Linked DNA regions of Homo sapiens: region 2 is linked to region 1. Evidence: promoter capture Hi-C in human tissues and cell types (Jung and others, 2019). All regions are on one chromosome and are shown on one strand. Each heading gives the region's core, a stretch centred on a gene start or on the middle of the fragment in contact. The rest is flanking DNA. Distances are from core to core; before and after follow the strand shown.

Region 1 (3,162 bases), core at 567-3,066:
TGGCACATGCCTGTAATCCCAGCTACCTGGGAGGCTGAGGCAGGAGAATGGCTTGAACCCAGGAGGTGGAGGTTTACAGTGAGACAAGATCGTGCCACTGCATTCCAGCCTGAGTGACAGAGCGAGACTCTGACTCAAAAAAAAAAAAAAAAAAGTGATAACACCCACTTCTGGGGTCGGGGTGAGGAGGCTCCAAAACATTACTGGTGAAAAATATGAATTATTAATGGCTTTTTGGGGAAAATGATCTGGTAATATTAATTAAATATGTATACTCATTGACCTAATAACTCTGTGTTTATAATTTACTTATAAATGCACCAGTGCATAGGGATATATGTCTGAAAATATTTTGCGTAGTGTGGAGAAAATACTGGAAAACCTTCAAAAACTAAAAGATCCACAATGCTGAACTGATACTATAGCATATTGTGCAACTATTATAAAGAATAAATTAGAATTAGATGTACTGCCCTGGTGAGATGCCCATGAAATATTAGGTGACAAAAGGTAAATTGATGCACATGGTTTTGATTTTTTTTTTTAATGTCCTTATATAAGTTTGTAGGGAGGAGAATACGGTTTATAACTCTGCAGGCAGAAAGCCTGTAGCCAAACCCTGGCTTCATCACCTCCTGTATGTGATCATCCCCCCGGGCCTCAGTTCCGTCAACTGTAAGAGGGGTTAATAATAACATGGATCTGGCAAGCTTGTCGTTGAGTATATGATAATTTCTGAAAAGTGCTACAGATGCCTGGTGCACAATTCAGTAACAGCATGAGTACAATGTATATGAGAAGGCAGAACACAGAAGATGAAAACACACCACACAGGTCAGGCACGGTGGCTCATGCCTATAGTAATCCCAGCACTCTGGAACACTGGCAGGTGGCTCACCTGAGGTCAGGAGTTCGACACCAGCCAGGCCAACATGGCAAAACCCCGTCTCTACCAAAAATATAAAAATTAGCTGGGCGTGGTGGTGTGCACTTGTAATCCCAGCTACTCAGGAGGCTGAGGCAGGAGAATCACTTGAAGCCAGGAGGCGGAGGTTGCAGTGGCCCAAGATCGCACCATTGCACTCCAGCCTGGGTGACAAGAGCAAAACTCCATCTCAAAAAAAAAAAAAAAAAAAAAGGAAAATATTATTTATAAAATAGAAAATTAAAAAAAAAATTTTAAATACACATTTTTAAAAACCACTTGCAGGCTCTCACACACTGCATATCCAGGATTCACATGCAGGCAGCCTGGCTCTAGACGCGGGGCTCCAGTGCCTCCGGTGTCTCAGCCCGTGACTTCCCTGCTCTCAACCTCAGTTTACTCCACTGTGAAATGGACTTCCAGATACTCACCTCTTGAGTTTGCTGCAAGCGTAAATGGCATCAGGCTTGGACCTGGGGGAAGGAAGTGTTTTTAAAATGGGTAGCTTTGTTACCTCAGTCCTTGCGGGGAGAAGATGTGCCAATGCCCCGGGCCTCTGCGATGTAAGTTCCTGTTGAGTTGTTCAATGTTCCACTGAGAGGAGAGACAAGCAGGACCGGGATCCCGGCCCCGGGTCTTCCAGAAACGGCGGGGCGAAGCGCCCAGGGGCCTGTGCGTCCCTCCCTGCTGAGCGAGGGGGCCTGTCATTGCCGTGGGCGTGACCCAGACCCCAACCACAGTGCATCCCGCCCTGGCCCAGCCAGAGAAGGAAGCTGAGTCTGGGGTCTGCTGGGCCAGCAGGAAGTCCCAGCAGGGTGTGAAGCAAGACTTTCCGGGCCACTCCTGGAATCCCCCAGCAGATAAAGGCGGCCCCTCCACCGGGCGCTCCTAGCGGTCTCCCGGACCCTGCCGCCCTGCCACTATGTCCCGCCGCTCTATGCTGCTTGCCTGGGCTCTCCCCAGCCTCCTTCGACTCGGAGCGGCTCAGGAGACAGAAGACCCGGCCTGCTGCAGCCCCATAGTGCCCCGGAACGAGTGGAAGGCCCTGGCATCAGAGTGCGCCCAGCACCTGAGCCTGCCCTTACGCTATGTGGTGGTATCGCACACGGCGGGCAGCAGCTGCAACACCCCCGCCTCGTGCCAGCAGCAGGCCCGGAATGTGCAGCACTACCACATGAAGACACTGGGCTGGTGCGACGTGGGCTACAAGTGAGTGTGGCAGGGGGGCACGGGCTGGACTGGGGATCCCAGAGGCAAAGGTGTGCAAGTGCCCGCCAGCGGGACCATTTCTAGGCCTGGTGCTGAGGCCACCTGGCTGACACCCTGAGCAGCTTACTGAACCTCACAAGGTCATTTCTTCCTCGGGTCACCACGTGGGCCGGGGCAGGTGCTCACAGCACAAAGATGCGTGAGAAGGGGGGATGGGCTGAAATCCAAGCCCCGCTCCCGCTCCCGGGAAGAAGGGGCAGGCTTTGCCTAACACACACCAAGGTGTCCGCGACGCCTTATGAAGGCGCCCCTTCCTGATGCCTGGTGCCTTTGTTAGGAGGCGGAAAACCAGGCTGACTCAGTGCGGAGCTGGGTTCCAGGGTCAGCTCATCTTATTGCTGGCTGAGGCCTGGGGCGGGTCCTCCCGGCTTCAGCTTCCTCCTCGGCAAAGTCAATGGAATCGCGGCCCATCTGCTCCTTATATGAGCCAATACAGGCAAAGCACCTAGGAACTGCCTGGCACACGGGGGCCCGCAAAGCCACGGGCTATTACCATTAGGCACCTACTATGTGCCAGGCAGTGTGCCAGATGTGGCATGGAGAACGGTGCCACTCTAGCCTCCTGGGGTTGAAAGACCAGCAGGGAGAAACAAGCCAAGGCCACAGGTGAATTCAGACGGTGATAGAGGCGATGGATAAAAGGAAAGAGGTGAGGGAGGGTGACCTCAGGCTGGGACCAGACCCACACAGGCTCCTTGGAAGGGTGGGGCAAGGGAAAGCCTCCCTGAGAGTGGCTGCCTTGGCTCTGGGATGGGGGAGCAGACAGAGGCCTGCAGGTGGCAGGGGGTGCTGGGGGCAAAGCCAACGGGGTTGAGTGGGCGGGTCCTGTGGGAAGGACAGGGTGGCTGAACACAGCCGGGCGAGCGGAATGAAATGAGGAAAGGGCAGGACCAGGCAGGGCTTTGTGGACCACAGTGAGGACTGTAGCTTTTACTCCGAGATGGGAGCCATGGGAGGCTTCCCCCCGC
Region 2 (3,529 bases), core at 860-3,359, 410 kb before region 1:
GCGTGGTGGCGCGTGCCTGTAATCTCAGCTGCTAGGGAGGCTGAGGCATGAGAATCACTTGAACCTGGGAGGCAGAGGTTGCAGTGAGCCAAGATCGCACCATTACACTCCAGCCTGGGCGACAGAGTGAGACTCCATCTCGAAACAAAACAAAACAAAAAAAGCAGTTTTTTTTTTTTTTTTAACATATAGACAGAAGGTTACCAGAGGCTGGGAAGGGTCGTCGGCGGGATGGATGGGGGAGGTGGGGATGGTTAATGGGTACAATACTCAACACAAATAGAAAGAATGAATAAGACATACTATTTGATAGCACAACAGGATGACTATTGTTAATAATAATAGTACATTTCAAAATAGCTAAATGAATGTAATTGGATTGTTTGTCACACAAAGGATAAGTTCTTAAGGGGATGGCGACTTCATTCTCCACAATGTGATTATTTCTCATTGCATGCCTGTATCAAATATCTTGTGAACCCCATACATATATACAGCTACCATGTACCCGCACAATTAAAAATTAAAAATTTAAAAATAAACTATATTCGTGATGGCAAAATAATAATAATAATATAGGGATGGCGAGATCTTGTTTAAAAGTTACTGAGGCTGGGCGTGGTGGCTCAGGCCTGTAATCCCAACACTTTGGGAGGCCGAGGTGGGAGAATCACTTGAACTCAGGAGTTTGATACCAGCCTGGGCAACATAGAGAGACCCTTATCTCCAAAAAAAAAAAAAAAAAAAAAAAATTACTAACCAGGGAGCGCTAGGGTTGCTGGAGGAGGGGTGTATCAAAGTTTTTTTTTCTGTGACTAGTATTGGGTTTTAAGTCTCTGTAGGCCAGTCTGCTGGGCAATTTAGAAACTGAACCGGGACAGAGAGGACAAATTGGAACCTACAAGAACAATCTAGGCCAGGTGCGGTGGCTCACTCCTGCAATCCCAGCATTTTTGGAGATTGAGGCAGGCGGATCATTTGAAGTCAGGAGTTCGAGACCAGCCTGGCCAACATGGTGAAACCCCATCTCTATGAAAATACAAAAATTAGCTGGGCATGATGGCGGGTGCCTGTAATCCCAGCTACTCAGGAGGCTGAGGCCGGAGAATCGCTTGAACCCGGGAGGTGGAGGTTGCAGTGAGCAGAGATGGCACCATTGCATTCCAGCCTGAGCAACAGAGCGAGATTCCGTCTCAAAAAAAAAAAAAAAAAAAAAAAAAAATTAGAATCCTTGAAGACAAACTGGAACCCCCGCCCCCAACCAACGTCTCTTTTCCCACCTTCAACCTCAATTCCACGCTTGACCTGCAGGGGAAGCTGGTGCCTTTTGCCCCCACAGAGCTGCTCCGGTGCTGGCCCCAAGTTCACCGACGCTGAAAAGGAGACCGGCAGGAGCAGGTGGAGTCCCAGAGGCTGCCCCAAGCCAATAAGGTGAGCCCACAGACCAGTCATGAAATGCATGAGCCATGTGGCACCCTGTGCAGACCTTCTCACAGCACCAGCCGCTGTGTAAATCTAATGCACATTTCTCTTTTAGACGACTCTAACCAACAGCCACCTGCAGAAAGCTATTCTAGGACACACAAGCCCAGCTTAGCTAAACTGGCACTGAACAAAATCAACATACAGCCCAGAGAGGGAACTGTCATCCAGAAACTTCACGACAGAACAGGAACTAAGCCGCGTGACACAATATGGGACCCCTTTCTCAGGGAACTCCATGGTATTGTATAATGTTAAATCTGTGCGCCCAGGAGTCAGGGTGCTGAGGCGGGAAGTCTAGCTTTGCCATTCACTAGCTGTGTGACCTTAGGTAAGTGAATTAACCTCTCTGATCTTCGGTTTTCCTGACTATAAAACCGGAGGCATCAGGCCGGGCGCGGTGGCTCACGCCTGTAATCCCAGCACTTTGAGAGGCCAAGACGTGCAGATCACGAGGTCAGGAGATCGAGACCATCCTGGCTAACACGGTAAAACCCCGTCTCTACTAAAAATACAAAAAAATTAGCCGGGCCTAGTGGTGGGCGCCTGTAGTCCCAGCTACTCGGGAGGCTGAGGCAGAAGAATGGCGTGAACCCGGGAGGCGGAGCTTGCAGTGAGCCGAGATCGTGCCATTGTACTCTAGCCTGGGCAACAAGAGCAAAACTCCATCTCAGGAAAAAAAAAAATCTAGTATTGATGAGCATGTGGCGAAACTGGATTTTTTTTTTTTACACTGTTTGGTGGGAGAATAAAATGGTACGACCAGTTTGGGAAACTTGTAGAATCTGCTAAGGCATTTGTTCAGGCTTAAAACTAATGGATATGTACATATATGTTCACCAAGAAACATAGACCACGTAATATGTGATTCCATTTATGTAAAATACAAAAACAGGCAAAACTAACCTATGCTGTTGAAAGTCAAGATAGTGGCTTCCCTTAAGAGGATATAGTGATTTGGAGAAAGCACAGGATATCCTCTGGGAATGCTATGATGTTCATTTACTGATTTGGGTGCTGGTTACACCATGTGTTCAGTTAATGGATTTTCATTTATAATTCGTGCACTTCTGACTACGTGTAAAAACAAAGTTTCAGGGGATGTCGGTTTCAGGTGTTGTTTGATCCTGAGGCATATGATGTCTTCCTGACTATGGCCTGGTTTCTGGTTGTTCCCTCAACTCTGCCTTCCTCTAGATGCAAAGTTCATCCTCAAAGTGTTTATTGGCTGGACGCGGTGGTTCATGCCTGTAAGCCCAGCACTTTGGGAGGCCGGGGCAGGTGGATCACTTGAGGTCAGGAGTTTGAGACCAGCCTGGACAACATGGTGAAACCCTGTCTCTACTAAAAACACAAAAAGTTAGCCGGGCGTGGTGGCGGGCGCCTGTAATCTCAGCTGTTTTACAGGCTGGGGCAGGAGAATTGCTTGAACCTGAGAGGTTGAGGTTGCAGTGAGTCGAGATCGCGCCACTGCACTCCAGCCTGGGCGACAGAGCAAGACTCTGTCTGAAAGAAAGAAGGAAAGAAAGAAAAAAGAAGGAAGGAAGGAAGGAAGGAAGGAAGGAAGGAAGGAAGGAAGGAAGAGAGTTTGTCATGCTTCCAAGACAGCCTCCTGTAGCTCCTATACTTAGTCTTTCACGTCTAGGAGGAAAGAGAGAGTCTTCCTCCGCTTACCAGTTGCAGAAATCCTTACCTTCATTCTGACTGGACTTACTGAGTTCACGTGTCTAACCTTTAACCAATCTCAGAGAAGAGGGGCATATTAAGCACTAATTGCTTTTTGTCCAGGTTACCTGGGTGACCATTTCTGAACCAATCACTGTGGGAAGGAGGGTGAGATTATGCTAATTGGTTCAAGCCAATCAGGGCTTATCCCTGGAACTGGGGGTATAAAGGGTGTCGACCTAACCCAAATGTTTTGGCTTTATTAATGGGGACTGGGGAGGAGAGGAATAGACATTGTGGATGTCATCACATGGGGGAGACATTTCTTATTTATTTTTAAACATTTATTTGAAACAACCATAAACCTACAGAAGAGTTGCAA

The links. Contacts are between HindIII fragments. The study calls those that stand out against the background at their distance.
Region 2: a fragment that was not itself captured here is called in contact with the fragment with the promoter of PGLYRP1 in region 1 in 1 of the 25 tissues and cell types used here (aorta).

Annotation. Positions count from the first base shown.
Region 1 is chr19:46,021,707-46,024,868 of GRCh38, reverse strand. It overlaps PGLYRP1 (peptidoglycan recognition protein 1), which reads left to right and starts at 1,816. Exons shown (of 3, transcript NM_005091.3): 1 at 1,816-2,134. The coding sequence starts at 1,848. RefSeq lists an enhancer at 2,323-3,162. The HindIII fragment of the contact is 20,258 bases long and covers 1-3,162 here.
Region 2 is chr19:46,429,878-46,433,406 of GRCh38, reverse strand. No RefSeq gene overlaps it. Among named protein-coding and RNA genes, the nearest start is that of PNMA8C, 2.7 kb to the right of the region's middle. The HindIII fragment of the contact is 8,299 bases long and covers 1-3,529 here.